3 separate regions of the Homo sapiens genome follow, and all the other regions are linked to region 3. Evidence: promoter capture Hi-C in human tissues and cell types (Jung and others, 2019). All regions are on one chromosome and are shown on one strand. Each heading gives the region's core, a stretch centred on a gene start or on the middle of the fragment in contact. The rest is flanking DNA. Distances are from core to core; before and after follow the strand shown.

Region 1 (4,450 bases), core at 92-2,591, 770 kb before region 3:
AAAAGAGTATATTCATTATTAAAAAAGTATACAAAATTAAAAAGTTAAATTTGAAGGTTATGCATTTTTAAAGCATCCTAACACTTTATGAATTTACCAGAAGATTCCTTTATATAGCAAGTTCCCCAGTGATGAGTAAATTAAATAAGTAAAGTTCCATTTTCATCCCAAAGAGCTAATTGTACAGAATTAGTTCTTCATATGGTTCAGAAGACATGGTTCCATAAATAAGTAAAAAGCTATCTAACTTCTTAGTACACACGTTTAAAGAAGCCATGACAAATCACTGGAACTCAATGGACCTTACACTGAAATAAATTCCAGATGACTCTAATATTTAATTTTTTTATTCCTAAATCCTGAGAAAAGTTTTTTGATAAGACACAAAATCTAAAACCAGTAAGGCCAAAAAAAAAAAAAGTGATAAATTTAATACTATATGATGCCAGGTGTGGTGGCTCACACCTGCAATCCCAGCACTTTGAGAGGCTGAGGCCAGTGGATCATTTAAAGCCAGGAATTCGAGACTAGCCTGGCCAACATGGCGAAACCCCATCTCTATTAAAAATTAAAAAATTAGCCTGGTGTGGTGGTGCACGCCTGTAGTCCCAGCTACTCAGGAGGCTGAGGCATGAGAATCACTTGATCCTAGGAGGCAGAAGGTGCACTGAGCCAAGATCACGCCACTGCACTCCAGCCTGGGTGACAGGGAAAGACTCCGTCTCAAAGAAATAAAAATAAAATAAAATTTAATATTCTGTAAATTTTTTAATCTGGCAAAATCATTTAAGCAAAATCAAAAAGCAAACTAACCAGGAAAAGGTATTTGCAACTTATAAAGAACTCCTTTCCCTAATATAAAAAGGGGGCTGGACATGGTGACTCACACCTATAATCCCAGCACTTTGGGAGGCCAAGGCAGGAGGATTGCTTGAAGTCAGGAGTCCCAGACCAGCCTGTCCAACGTAGTGAAAGTCCGTCTCTATTAAAAAATAATAGCGGCGGGGGAGCAGTGGCTCACGCCTGTAATCCAAGCACTCTGGGAGGCCAAGGAGGTCAGATCACTTGAGGTCAGGAGCTCAAGACCAGCCTGGCCAACATGGTGAAACCCTGTCTCTACTAAAAATAAAAAAATTAGCTAGGCATGGTGGTGTGCGCCCATAATCCCAGGTACTCGGGAGGCTAAGACAAGAGAATTGCTTGAACCCAGGAGGTGGAGTTGCAGCGAGCCAAGATGGCACCACTGCACTTCAGCCTGGGTGACAGAGCGAGACTCTGACTCAAAAAAAAAAATAAAAATACATTAACAGTAATAATAATTTTTAAAGGCTTCCTACAAATCAACAAGACCAAATACCTAACAGAAAAATGAGTAAAGGATAATAAACGCAAATGGCTATGAATATGTACATAGTTAAGAGGAAAGCAAATTAAAGTCATCTTGAGATACTGTTTTTTTACTTATCAGACTGGCAAAAATCAAAGCCTGGTAGTGCTGGAAAGGGTTAGGTCAACCAGCATTCTCCCCTAAGCAGTTACTGGGAGTATAAAATAATAGAATCTCTAAGAGAGGGCAACTTGAAAATATCAAAAGTACAAATCCATATATCATCCTATGACAAAGAATTGTTCCCAGGACTTTAAGTTTTCTTAATTCACTGTTAAAACCCACTATAGGACTTTATTTTAAATACACACACCTGTGATAAATGATATCTATACAAGATTATCCCCTGCATTCCCACTTATAACAGCAAAAGACTAGACAGGAAGAGAGAAGTCCTTAAAATGGTAAAACAAATGATGACACATCCATAGAGTGGAATGTTAACAGTCACAAAAGAGAATGTATAAGCTTAATGAATGCATGCAAAAAGTATCTACAAGATATATTAAGCGTAAAATGTTCAGAAGAGTTGTAAATTATGCCACACATCTTTTAAAAGTTTTTTATTGTACCTCTTAAACTTCAGACAGGGAGAACACGTGCAGGTTTGTTTACATGAGTCTACTGCATAATATAAGGTTTGGGCTTCTAATGATCCCATCATCCAAGCAGTGAACATAGTACCTGATAGGTAGTTTTTCAACCCTTGTAAAAGATTTTTCCTTTTTAAAATCAAAGAAATAGACAGTATTTCGGTCTTTAAAATAAATAAAAAGCCAAAGAATGAAAAAGAACATGTACATATTTGCTTTACACAGACTATCTCTGGAAAGACAGAAAAGAAAACAGTAGTATTGGTCATATCCAAGGAAAACTTGATGACTTGGAAAAGATACCCTTTTACACTTTGTAAATTTTGTGTCTTGTGAACACACAACCTTTAAAAACTAAAACACAGGCCAGGTGGGCAGGTGCAGTGGCTCACACCGGTAATTCCATCACTTTAGGAGGCCCATGTGGGAGTAACGTTTGAGGTCAAGAGTTCAAGACCAGCCTGGTCAAAATAGCCAGTCAGTCTCTACCAAAAAAAAAAAAAAAATAGCAGGTATGGTGGCCAGGAGGCTGAGGCAGGAGGACACCTTCAGCAGCCCTGGAAGTTCAGGTTGCAGTGAGCCATAACCATATCACTGCACTCCAGCCTAGGAGACAGAGTGAGACCCCGTCTCTTTAAAAAAATAAAAAATAAAGTTAAAATTAGTTAATTATTAAAGGTTATAAAGAAAAAGGTCACATATATTGTATGATTCCATTTATATGAGATGTCCAACACAGGCAAATCTAGAGAAACAAAGTAGATTAGTGGTTTCAGGGGAAGGGGTAACTGGGACTAACTGCTAATGGGTGTGGGATTTCTTTTTGGTGTATACTTTAAAATGATGAATTATATGTTATGTGAATTATATCTCAATAAAAAGTTATAATAAAGAAATGAGGCCGGCCATGGTGGCTCATGCCTATAATGCCAGCACGTTGGGAGGCTGAGGCAGGAGGATCGCTTAAGCCCAGGAGTTTGAGACCAACCTGGAAAACACAGTGAGACTCCATCTCTACAATGGTGTGTAGCTGTAGTCCCAGCTACTTGAGTGGCTGAGGTGAGAGGATCCCTCGAGCCTGGGGGTGGGGAGGCCAAGGCTGCAGTGAGCTGTGATGGTGCCACTGCACTCCAGTCTAGATGACAGAGTGAGACCCTGTCTCAAAAAAAAAAAACCAAAACGAAATCTGATTGCTAAAATCAACCGAACTCATATGCCAAATTAAAGCTACAGCTTCCAGTTTTTATACAAAAAGGAAGATGCTACATCACCACCACTCCTGTGTAAGTGGGTCAGTAATCTTAATCAAATTCAGCCACTTATTAGTCTTCTTCATTATAATTAAAAAGTATTTTACCTTTCATCAGAGCTAATGATGAGCAGCAAAAGCACCTAATCTGAATTTTACCTCTTCTTACAAGATTGGTCATACAGCTCCAAAGCTTAAAATATCTGTTAGTCTACAGATAATAGATATTTTTAAAATCACGACTTCAAAAGGTTTACTATTGTTTCCTATTATGACTAGAGATAAAAATAGAAATTCACTTCCCAACACTAAAGCACTAATATCAGGAAAGGTCAGGAACAACAACAACAAAAAATCTCTCCTCTGATGTGAAGTTTATTTTTAAAAGAGATAAAATGTACAGTGATTCTTTTCAAAAGCTGCCTCAAGCTTTTACCTATGAAGTTGATTGGTTTTCTAAAACTAACACACTTAGGCGATACCTATCAGAGACTGACAAAACAAAACTAAACGGAAGTCACAAATAAGGTAAAATATTAAAGCTTAAAGAACTGGCAAAAAAAAAATACCTCTACAATGATGTATAATTCAAACAATGCAAACTCCTAGCTTGTACTTATTAATTCATAAACTTCAAGGTTTTATTACAAATCACCAACTATTTTTGTGAATAAGTATGCAAAACATCCTTTGTGTGTATGTGTTCCACGTGAGCACAACATCCTTAGGTGCATTTCATATGACTAAGGCAGCAAAGAAGTATATGAAAAAAAATCTAGTTATCCCAAACCTATAAATTACATGAAAAGGTGCCGAATTTATTAAACATCTTTCTATAAACTAAAATTTTGGTTTTCAGATCATTACCAGTAAAACCAAGACAGAGAAGTTTTAACCAATTCTTTAAAAATTACTGTCTTTTAAAGATTAATCTATGAAATGTCAAAGATGCAGTTGACAAAAACCCAGTTTGGTGAAAATCAGACTGCACTTGAAGTAAATTTTACACTAACTTTATATACACACACTGAGTTTTTCTTTCTGCCGAAGCAAAATATTAGTGCAGAGAAGTCATATCAACCTATTTCAACTTTGTGCACAGGCATATAATAAAAAAATGTAAAAATGTGCCTGAAGACAGGAAAATAAACTTCTGACTTATGATTTGTATAAGGCCGGTTTTTTAACTCCACTAATCAAATTAATCCATTAGTTGATGAA
Region 2 (4,854 bases), core at 287-2,786, 530 kb before region 3:
CGGCTGGGCACAGTAGACTCACGCCTGTAATCCCAACACTTCAGGAGGCCGGCGGGGGGGGGGGGCGGGGGGGGGGGGGGGCGGGGTGGATCACCTGAGGTCAGGAGTTCGAGACCAGCCTGGCCAACATGGAAAAACCCCATCTCTACTAAAAATACAAAAAAATGGCCAGGCACAGTGGCTCACGCTTGTAATCCTAGCAGTTCGGGAAGCCGAGGTGGGCAGATCATGACGTCTGGAGTTCGAGATCAGCCTGGCCAATATGGTGAAACCCTGTCTCTACTAAAAATACAAAAAATTAGTCAGGCATGGTGGCGCACGCCTGTAGTCCCAGCTACTCGGGAGGCTGAGGCAGAAGAATCGCTTGAATCCAGGAGGGGGAGGTTGCAGTGAGCAGAGATCGTGCCACTGCACTCCACCCTGGGCGACAGAGCGAGACTCTATCCCAAAAAAAAAAATAAAAACAAACAATCAAAAAAATTAGCTGGGCATGGTGGCATGTGCCTGTAATCCCAGCTACTCAGGAGGCTGAGGCACGAGAATCGCTTGAACCCAGGGCGGAGGTTGCAGTGAGCCAAGATGGTGTCACTGCACTCCAGCCTAGGCAACAGAGCGAGACTCCACCTCCAAAAAAAATTTTTTTTTTTTGTAGAGATCAGGTTTCATCATCATGTTGCCTAGGCTGATCTCAAACTCCTGAGCTCAAGCAATCCTCCCACCTCAGCCTCCCAAAGTGCTGGGATTACAGGCATGAGCCATTGTGCCTGGCCCTCAAGTGTTATTTTCAACTACCTACTTGATGTCTCCACTTAGACATCTCATAGTCACTTCGAACTCCACATATCCCAGACTGAATGCAGGATCTTCACCTCTAAACCTGCTCCTCCAGCACTCCCCATCTCATGCCAGTGCCTGGCATCAATCCTAAATACTCCTCTTCTCATCCTAACATCTAATCAGTCCTCAGTCTTCAAGGCCTTTTAGTTCTACATACTGAACATCATGTCCAACCAATTCCACTATCTGTCATCTCTATAACAACCATATCAATCCAAGTCAGTCCTTCATTTAATAAATACTGACTGGGTGCCAACTGCATATAGGCACTGCTCTAGATGCCAGGGACAGCATAGTGAACACATACGGTTACCCTCCTGGCGCTTCCATTCTAATGGAACTTATGTTCTCCATCATCTCTCATCTGGACTCCTCTCTCTGCCACTTCATTAGTGTCCCCCTCCATATTACTCTCCACAATAGTCTGGGTAAGGCAAATCTGAAAATCTTCTCCAACTTAAAATCCTTCAATGGCTTCCTATTACTCTCAGAATAAACTCCAAAGTCTCTACTAAAAATACAAAAATTGGCCAGGCGCGGTGGCTCACACCTGTAATCCCAGCACACTTTGGGAGGCCGAGGCGGGCAGATCATGAGGTCAGGAGATCAAGACCATCCTGGCTAACATGGTGAAACCCGTGCCTACTAAAAATACAAAAAAAAAATTAGCCGGACACAGTGGCAGGCGCCTATAGTCCCAGCTACTCGGGAGGCTGAGGCAGGAGAATGGTATGAACCCGGGAGGCGAAGCTTGCAGTGGCAGAGACAGCGCCACTGCAGTCCGGCCTGGGCAAAAGAGCGAGACTCCGTCTCAAAAATAAAAAACAAAAATTAGCCAAGTGTGGTGGCACACACTTGCAGTCCCAGCCACCGGGGAGGCTGACGCCCTCCAGTGGCTTTAAATTTTTTTCTTTTTTTCTTTTGTTTTTTTTAGACGGAGTCTCTCTGTCACCCAGGCTAATACAGTGGTGATCTCGGCTCACTGCAACCTCCGCCTCCTAGGTTCAAGGGATTCTCATGCCTCAGCCTCACCAGTGGCTGGGACTACAGGTGTGTGCCACCGCACTTGGCTAATTTTTGTATTTTTACTAGAGATGGGGTTTCGCCATGTTGGCCCGCCTGGTCGAACTCCTGGCCTCATATGATCCACCCACCTCGGCCTCCCAAAGTGCTGGGATTAAAGGCGTGAGCCACTGCGCCTGGCCAAAAAACTTTTCTCTTTTTAACGCAGCCCACAGGAAGATAAATTATACCTCACAACCCAGTATACATCTACATGTACATATGAGACACACAAATTTCATCACTTATATTTACTATGTATGACACATTTGATGTTTTCTATCAATTCAATTTTATTTTTACTGCTGAGTGTAGTCCGTAAACTGACTTCTCCATCCTCAAAGGGTCAAAACAGAATCTACCTCTACAGTTTCATTTGTACTATTCTCTCTCCAACTATGCAACTAGTTTATGTTACTCACTCTGTGCTTCTTTCAGTTTCATAAGGGTTCGAGGTCCTTCCTGTCTCATTTCTTTTATATATGCTGGTGCCTCAACCATGAACATTCAACACTCTTCCCTTTACTCTTCAGTCTTCTAATCTGCTTCTCCTTAACACATATTCCAGGTCTGTTTCAATGTCACTCTCATCAGGCTAGAATAGGGTCCCTGGTTAATATTTCCACAGTATTCTTGTCCTTGCTTCATGGCCTGTAGTGCAATTGTAAGGAAATTACTCTCTCTGAGCAATCTCCCCACCTCATCTCTCTCTCATTCCACTTTACACTCCTTGAAGGTGGAAACTGCTTCCATTTTGTTCACCCAATAGCTCTAGTGTCTAACGCTGTCTAATACATCTGTTGAACGATGAACAATCAGGCCGGATGCGGTGGCTCATGCCTGAAATCCCAGCACCCTGGGGAAGCCAAGGAGGGCGGATCACTTGAGGTCAGGAGTTTGAGACCAGCCTGGCCAACATGGTGAAACCCCATCTCTACTAAAAATACAAAAATTAGTCGGGCATGGTGGTGCATACCTGTAATCCCAGCTACTTGGGAGGCTGAGGCAGGATAATTGCTTGAACCCGGGAAGCGGAGGTGGCAGTGAGCTGAGATCGTCCCACTGCACTCCAGCCTGGGCAACAAAGTGAGACTCCATCTCAAAATAAATAAATAAATAAATAAAAATAAATACACCAATATGACCTGTGTCTGAAGATCAGTTTTGTATTTTTCCTAAAAGCCTCACTGTTAAAGCTCCCAGGGCTGGGCGTGGTGGCTCACCCCTGTAATCCCAGCACTTTGGGAGGCCGAGGTGGGTGGATCATCTGAGGTCGGGAGTTTGAGACCAGACTGACCAACATGGAGAAACCCCATCTCTAATAAAAATGTAAAATTAGCCGGGAGTGGTGGCGCGTGCCTGTCATCCCAGCTACTCGGGAGGCTAAGGCAGGAGAATCACTTGAACCTAGAGGCGGAGGCTACAGTGAGCCCAGCGTGCCATTGCTCTCCAGCCTGGGTGACAGAGCAAGACTCCATCTTGGGTGGGGGCTGGGTGGGGAGGGAGCTCCCATGGGACTCACTCTTTGAAAAGAGTGAAATTAACAAGCGAATTACATCAAGCTAGATGCAACATGACACAAATTAAAGTTTTCACAAATTAACACTGACACTTCTCACAAACTCTTCCTACACTTCAAAATTTGCCTCTGATTAATGCGGAAAACACTACATTAACAAGAAGCACAACTTTTAAATTTCTCAAGATTTATGGGGAAGGTTTATAGAAGTATACTTTATAATAATAATATTCTTTACATGTAGTATCTAAAAACAGCTCCTAGAAAATACTTACAGGGCTGGCCGGGCACGGTGGTTCACGCCTGTAATCCCAACACTTTGGGAGGCCGAGGAGGGTGGATCACGAGGTCAGGAGTTCAAGACCAGCCTGGCCAAGATGGTGAAACCCCGTCTCTACTAAAAATACAAAAATTAGCTGGACGTGGTGGCGTGCGCCTGTAATCCAAGCTACTCGGAAGGCTGAGGCAGAGAATTGTTTGAACCCGGGAGGCGGAGGCTGCAGGAGCCAAGATCGCGCCACTGCACTCCAGCCTGGGTGACAGAGCGAGACTCCGTCTCAAAAAAAAGAAAAAAGAAAATACTTAGGGGGGCCTATTCTCTCAAAGACAAATTTAATTATTGCTACTTCAAGTTAGATAAACAGAGAAAAACAGGACATGACAATATAATCTCCATTTTAAATAAGAAACCTATAAAATAAAGCATCCCAGTGTGCACATAGCTCAATTTTTAGTTTTTTAGAAAGGTAGAGTAAAATTTTTATAAATACGGAGTTGTACTGATTTGAATTGAGAACTCTGGTTCCTTTATTATCTTGAATGCTTTTCATTTTATAGGACTTACTGCATAAATATTATTCCATAAAGGGAGATGACATAGAGCCCAGAGGTTTGCCTCAAATTATTATTTCCCAATAGGCACCAACAGCAAGTATCTTGAAATTTAAAAATGTTGAAGAAAGGGTGTGGTCAAAATAAGGACAGAGTCACTATCAGGTCAAATGCTAAAAGAAAAGCTTTCAAACTCTCAAACTAGGTCTTAGTTTTAAAAACTTTCAAAGGTTAAAATAAGGCCAGGTGCTGGATCACCTGAGGCCAGGAGTTAGAGACCAGTCTGGCCAACATAGCGTCTCTACTGAAAATACAAAAAATTAGCCAGGTGTGGTGGCAGGCGCCTGTAATCTCAGCTACCCAGGAGGCTGAGGCAGGAGAATTGCTTGAACCCAGGAGGTGGAAGGTGCAGTGAGTCGAGATCGTGCTATTGTACTCCAGTCTGGGCGATAGAGTGAGACTCCATCTCAAAAATAAATAAATAAACAAACAAACAAATAAATAAATAAGGCCTGGTGTGGCAGCTCACACCTGTAATTCCAGCACTTTGGGAGGCCAAAGCCTGAGAATCACCCAAGCCCAGGAGTTTCAGACTAGCCTAGGCA
Region 3 (4,705 bases), core at 928-3,427:
GTTGGCCAGGCTGGTGTCGAACTCCTGACCTCAGGTGATCCACCCTCCTCAGCCTCCCAAAGTGCTGGGATAACAGGTGTGAGCCACTGCACCTGACTTTTTTTTTTTTTTAAAGAGACAGGAGTACAGTGGTGCAAACACAGCTCACTGCAGCCTTGAACTCCTGGGCTCAAGTGATCCTCTTGCCTCGGCCTCCCCAGTAGTTGGGACTGCACCATCACACCTAGCTAATTTTTAAAAATTTGTTTTGGTAGAGACGGGGGTCTCACTATATTGCCCAGGCTGGTCTCAAACTGCTGATTTCATGTGATCCTCTTGTCTTGGCCTCCCGAAGTGCTGAGATGATAGGTGTGAGCCACCATGCCCTGCCAGGCCAGATACTTAACCACTACCCTGTATTGGTTCTCTTTGGAAAGGGATAGGATATTTCCTGAAAACTCCAAATTCACTGCTTTACTTGCCTGGAATAGAAGAAAGGCCCAGTGAGTTAACAGTCCCCAAACACCTCTCTAGTCCCTACTCCTAAGCTCTGTGAGCTCTTGATTACCGGAGCAGTGTATCCTTGCCCAGGCTCATGCACAGCTGATTGCTGGAGACGACAAGACTGGTAATGCGCTCGGAAGGGGTGAAGTCAATGCGCTGCTTTGTGAAGATGGGCACTTCCTTCTCCAGCTGGGCATTCACATACCCTACAGGTAAGGAATGACAAGAAGATTAGCTGTGGAAGAGACAGGTGAAGGGCAAGGAGAGGCAGAAAAAACACCACAGTGCTCCTCGCCACTTTCCTGACATATTCCTATCCCCAGGACCTTGGTTAACAAATAGTTTGATATCAAGTCGTTTGCTGGTCACCTTTACAATAGAGGTCTGGAGCTCTTTCCACACTCTGACAGCAGTGAGGGGTTGATTCTTTGAACCCTTAAGATGCTGTCACAGCATGATATACCTGCTCCCACTGGTAATGGGGCTGCGTGGAGGTGGGACGGGACTGGTGGTCTGGGTATTCTCCCTTATCAGGTCTTTGGCCCAGCAATCCCAGCTTAACTGAAGTAGTATAGCCCCATTCTCTGCCCCCCTCCCTGCCCATGCGGTAATGAGCCTCAGTGTAGAGTTGGCAAGTGCTGGGATATTTTGAGCATTGAATGAAGGTAAAGACTAGAGTGAAAGCAGCTCCAATTCGTTAACTCCACTCACTGGAACAGTTCCCCAGGGCTCCCTATGCCCTCATTCTCCTGGAGACTCACTACTTTCTACAAAAACGTCCCCAAACTCCAGGCTGCACCCAGCTATAGCCAAGGCCAAAAAGATTTCATCTCCATTTTCCCCGTTCAGCGACAAAATTCCCTCTGGGACCCTCCCTTCTTCCTCTGCAATACTCCGCCTTCACCACTTTCTTTGTCCATTCCTTCCCTCCCACCTCCAGAAGGGGCCTGGTGGGAAAAGCATCAGCAGAAGCCGGGAGCCCATTCTAAGTTCTCCCAACAGCCCAACTGCGCCCTGTAGGTGAGTAATTCCTTATCTGGGCCCCAATTCCCTCTCAAAAGGACCCTAGCGGTAGAGCCTAGATCACGCGGCAGCTCCCGTTGCTCTTTCAAACTTCGACTATCCACCAGCTGGGGGCCAAGAGAGCCTGAGGAGAATCAGGGGCCTAGACCCGGAAGGCACGGCCCAGGGGATGACCCCGAGCTCTTGGAGCTGCCCTCCTCGCTGCTCCCACGCAAATGCTAGGAGAGCCGAAAGGGGCAGCGGCACCCTCCTCTTCCTTACCCGAGTGGGGGATGCCCACGCTAGGGCAGCCGGGCTGCAAGACGGCCGAGCGGGACAGCGAGTTCTCGTACTCATCCAGGATGGACGCCATGGTGCCCGGCCTCTGGGCTCTTTGTCCGGGGCCTGGGGATTACAAAAGGGCTACCCCCCCGGGGTCCCCGTCGCCCCAGAATGGAAGCTGTAACTCCCCAGCCTCTGACAGATCCTGGGAACCTGCAGCCGTCGCCTCCTCTTTAAAATCCTGAGGATCCTCTTGCTCTTGCCTTATGCAGCGAGATAATCGGGCAGCCCTCGTCCTTGAATCTGGCGCAGTCTTGCACCTTACTCCCCGCCCCCGCTACAAAAAAATCACAGGCTCCCTTCAGCCGGTGCCAGGTGATCCCAACCTCGCCCCGGCAGCTCAGCTGACTCCCGCCCCCGTGACGCGGGCCTAAAACGTAACTTCCGGGTTCTCAGAGCCCCGCGTACGCTGGCGCACAACGTCGCCGGGCCAGCCAGCAGAAGGCGAGACGAGGGCTGAGGGCTGGGCGCGTGGCGAGTGCTGCTGAACACAAGCCCCGCCCCCAGGATCCTGCTGCAGTTCCGAGCTTTGACACCAGGAGGCAATCCCGGCTTTCTCAGCCGGCCTTCCCCACCCGCCCCGCGCCGCCCAGTTTTGGCTTTCGTGCCCAAGCTCCGCTCCCTCGGGTGGTCTGTCCAGCCTCCCTGACCAGCTCCCGCTCCCGCCTCTCTAAACAGCCTCGGGGAACCTCCCGTTCCTCAATCCAATCGCTGTCTCTATCCCACCGTCACAGGGCACACGCAGACAACTCCTGGCCACTCTTCTCCCTTACCCAAAGGCCCCCCAGCTTCCAGGAGACCGCAGAGCTGGTGGCCAGGCTAGTGGGAAGCCCTGTGCCAGGAACCGCCCTGACCTGCCCCACAGTGGCTCCTTGGCTCAGGGTTGCTGGGCCGCTTCCATTCACTCATTCACCAAAATGTGGTTGAGCACTTACTCTGTGCCAGGCCTTGGGCTGGGCGCTGGGGTCACAGAGATGAGGACAGCCCCTCCCCGCCCTGGAAAAGGTCGTAAGCCAGCAGGGGCGCTGGACCCGTAAATAGACCATTCATACTAGAAAAGCAAGTGATGGATTATCCATCAGGCACTTACTCCACGAATGAGCGTCCACTCTGTGCCAAGCACTGTTCCAGGCTCTGGGGACGTGGCAGAGAACAAGACGGAAAATGTCTCTTGCCTGGTGGGGCGTACCCAGCGACGTGGCCACGGCACTGAGAGCGTGAAGGAGCAGGGAACAAATACCTGCCAAGCCTAGCAAGAACGAGGGACAAGTGGGAGCAAGCGTGAAGGCGGGGGCCGCCCAGCCTGAGGTGGAGAGGGGAGTCCTCAGCCAGGGACCTGCGAGGGCTGGGGCGCGACTGTGGTTGGGTTTTCCTCTCTCACCTGCTTAGGCGACCCAGATGGAGTCTGTTCCCTTCTGGGGCCCTTGGATTCTACCTTGCTAAAGTGGAAGGCTCTGGACTAGGGTCGCCACCGTCCTGGCTCTGCTGGGCGGCCCCCGCCTAACAACTAAGAGCATCCCTTTGCTCTCAGAAGTTTCCAGGTTTGCACCATACCTTATGTGGTTGGGTTACTCTTGCTCAACTTCCTGGCCACGTGCGGAGAACTGTGACTCTCACCAGCCCCACTGAGGGCTATCTGGGCTCTCTGGCTTGGAGGGGCACTAGTCCTGGGGCAGGTGACAAGTATGCTGTCCAGGCTCATTTCCCTTCGCACCAGGGTCCTGCTTCTCTTGACCAAGCCTGCAGCCTCAATGCAGCCTTCCCACCTGAGGTTGCCAGGTCCCAGGAGGGAAGTGCAGGAGCAGGACAATAGGCAGGAGGCTTCCTCTAAGAAAAGTGATCCCAGACAGGGAGCTGCCCTGCTCCATACATAACACTTCACCCCCAGGTCACCTGCCATCTGCCCTCAGGTCTGGACTGTGCAGAGGGTTGTCCCTGCTGCACAGAGCCCATTAGCAGTTGGAGGTCAGCATAGGAGTGCTGCCTTAGGGACACAGAGTACTTCCAGCTACAGCCTCAGGGACCCCAGCACCCCATTGTTGGGCTCCATGGCTCTCCGGGATGTATGGGATAGGCCTGGGTGGACCCTGTTTGTGGCAGACTCAGTACAGTCTCCCTTATGCGTTGATTACCACAGTGCATTTCCACCTACTCATTCTTCAGTTCTTAGGCTGGACTTTGGATTCTTTGAGAGCCACAGAATCAAGTGTGGCAGTTGCAATGAGACAGGTAAGGGATGACTGCTAGGGCATCAAAAGAGAGGATTCCTGTATGAAAGCAGCTGAATTTGACCCAAGACTTGAAGTGCATGTATGATCTCCAAGGGCAAGCTGTATCTCTTATCCCTGCCCAGCCACTTGCTAGCTGTGACACTGCACAGTTGATGCTCTTAGCTTCAGTTTCCTCATCTACAGAGACAAATACCTACCTAGTAGGTCTGTGCTGAGAAGTAAATGAGGGATCCACGTGAAAGCTCACTGCTATAGTATAATGCCCAACATGGAGCATGTGCTTAATAAACTCTAAATGTGACTTTCATCTGACAGTCTCTCTCAAGTCCTCCTCCTTCCTGAAGCCTCTCTGGATCCCTCAGAACTCTTTTTAGAGATGGGATCTTGCTCTGTCACCCAGGCTGGAGTGCAGTGATGTGATCATAGCTCATCTAAACACCTGGGCTCAAACCATTCTCCTGTCTCAGCCTTCCCAGTAGCTGGGATTACAGGTGCGAGCCACTGCGCCCAGCTGGCTTTTCTTATTCTGGCCACTTGGGGGCCCCTAATGATGCAGTGTGGACATTTTGCTTTGATAGAAACTGCAGGAAATAACCCAGTGATTTCTGAGCATGAAGATACAGAGGTGCCTTAGGGAACTCACAGCT

What was found. The method cuts DNA at HindIII sites, captures the fragments that hold promoters and counts their contacts. A contact is called where the count stands out against the background at its distance.
Region 1: a fragment that was not itself captured here is called in contact with the fragment with the promoter of VPS18 in region 3 in 1 of the 25 tissues and cell types used here (spleen).
Region 2: a contact is called between a fragment that was not itself captured here and the fragment with the promoter of VPS18 in region 3, in 1 of the 25 tissues and cell types used here (pancreas).

What each region holds. Positions count from the first base shown.
Region 1 is chr15:41,664,097-41,668,546 of GRCh38, reverse strand. The region is part of intron 1 of MGA (MAX dimerization protein MGA); the gene reads right to left. Among named protein-coding and RNA genes, the nearest start is that of MGA, 5.9 kb to the right of the region's middle. The HindIII fragment of the contact is 4,748 bases long and covers 1-3,715 here.
Region 2 is chr15:41,421,917-41,426,770 of GRCh38, reverse strand. All of the region lies in intron 1 of RTF1 (RTF1 homolog, Paf1/RNA polymerase II complex component), which reads right to left. Among named protein-coding and RNA genes, the nearest start is that of RTF1, 7.2 kb to the right of the region's middle. The HindIII fragment of the contact is 8,350 bases long and covers 1-4,854 here.
Region 3 is chr15:40,891,922-40,896,626 of GRCh38, reverse strand. It overlaps VPS18 (VPS18 core subunit of CORVET and HOPS complexes), which reads right to left and starts at 2,177. Exons shown (of 5, transcript NM_020857.3): 1 at 1,768-2,177; 2 at 548-689. The coding sequence starts at 1,858. RefSeq lists an enhancer at 1,362-1,451 and silencers at 2,292-2,461, 4,583-4,632. The HindIII fragment of the contact is 19,251 bases long and covers 1-4,705 here.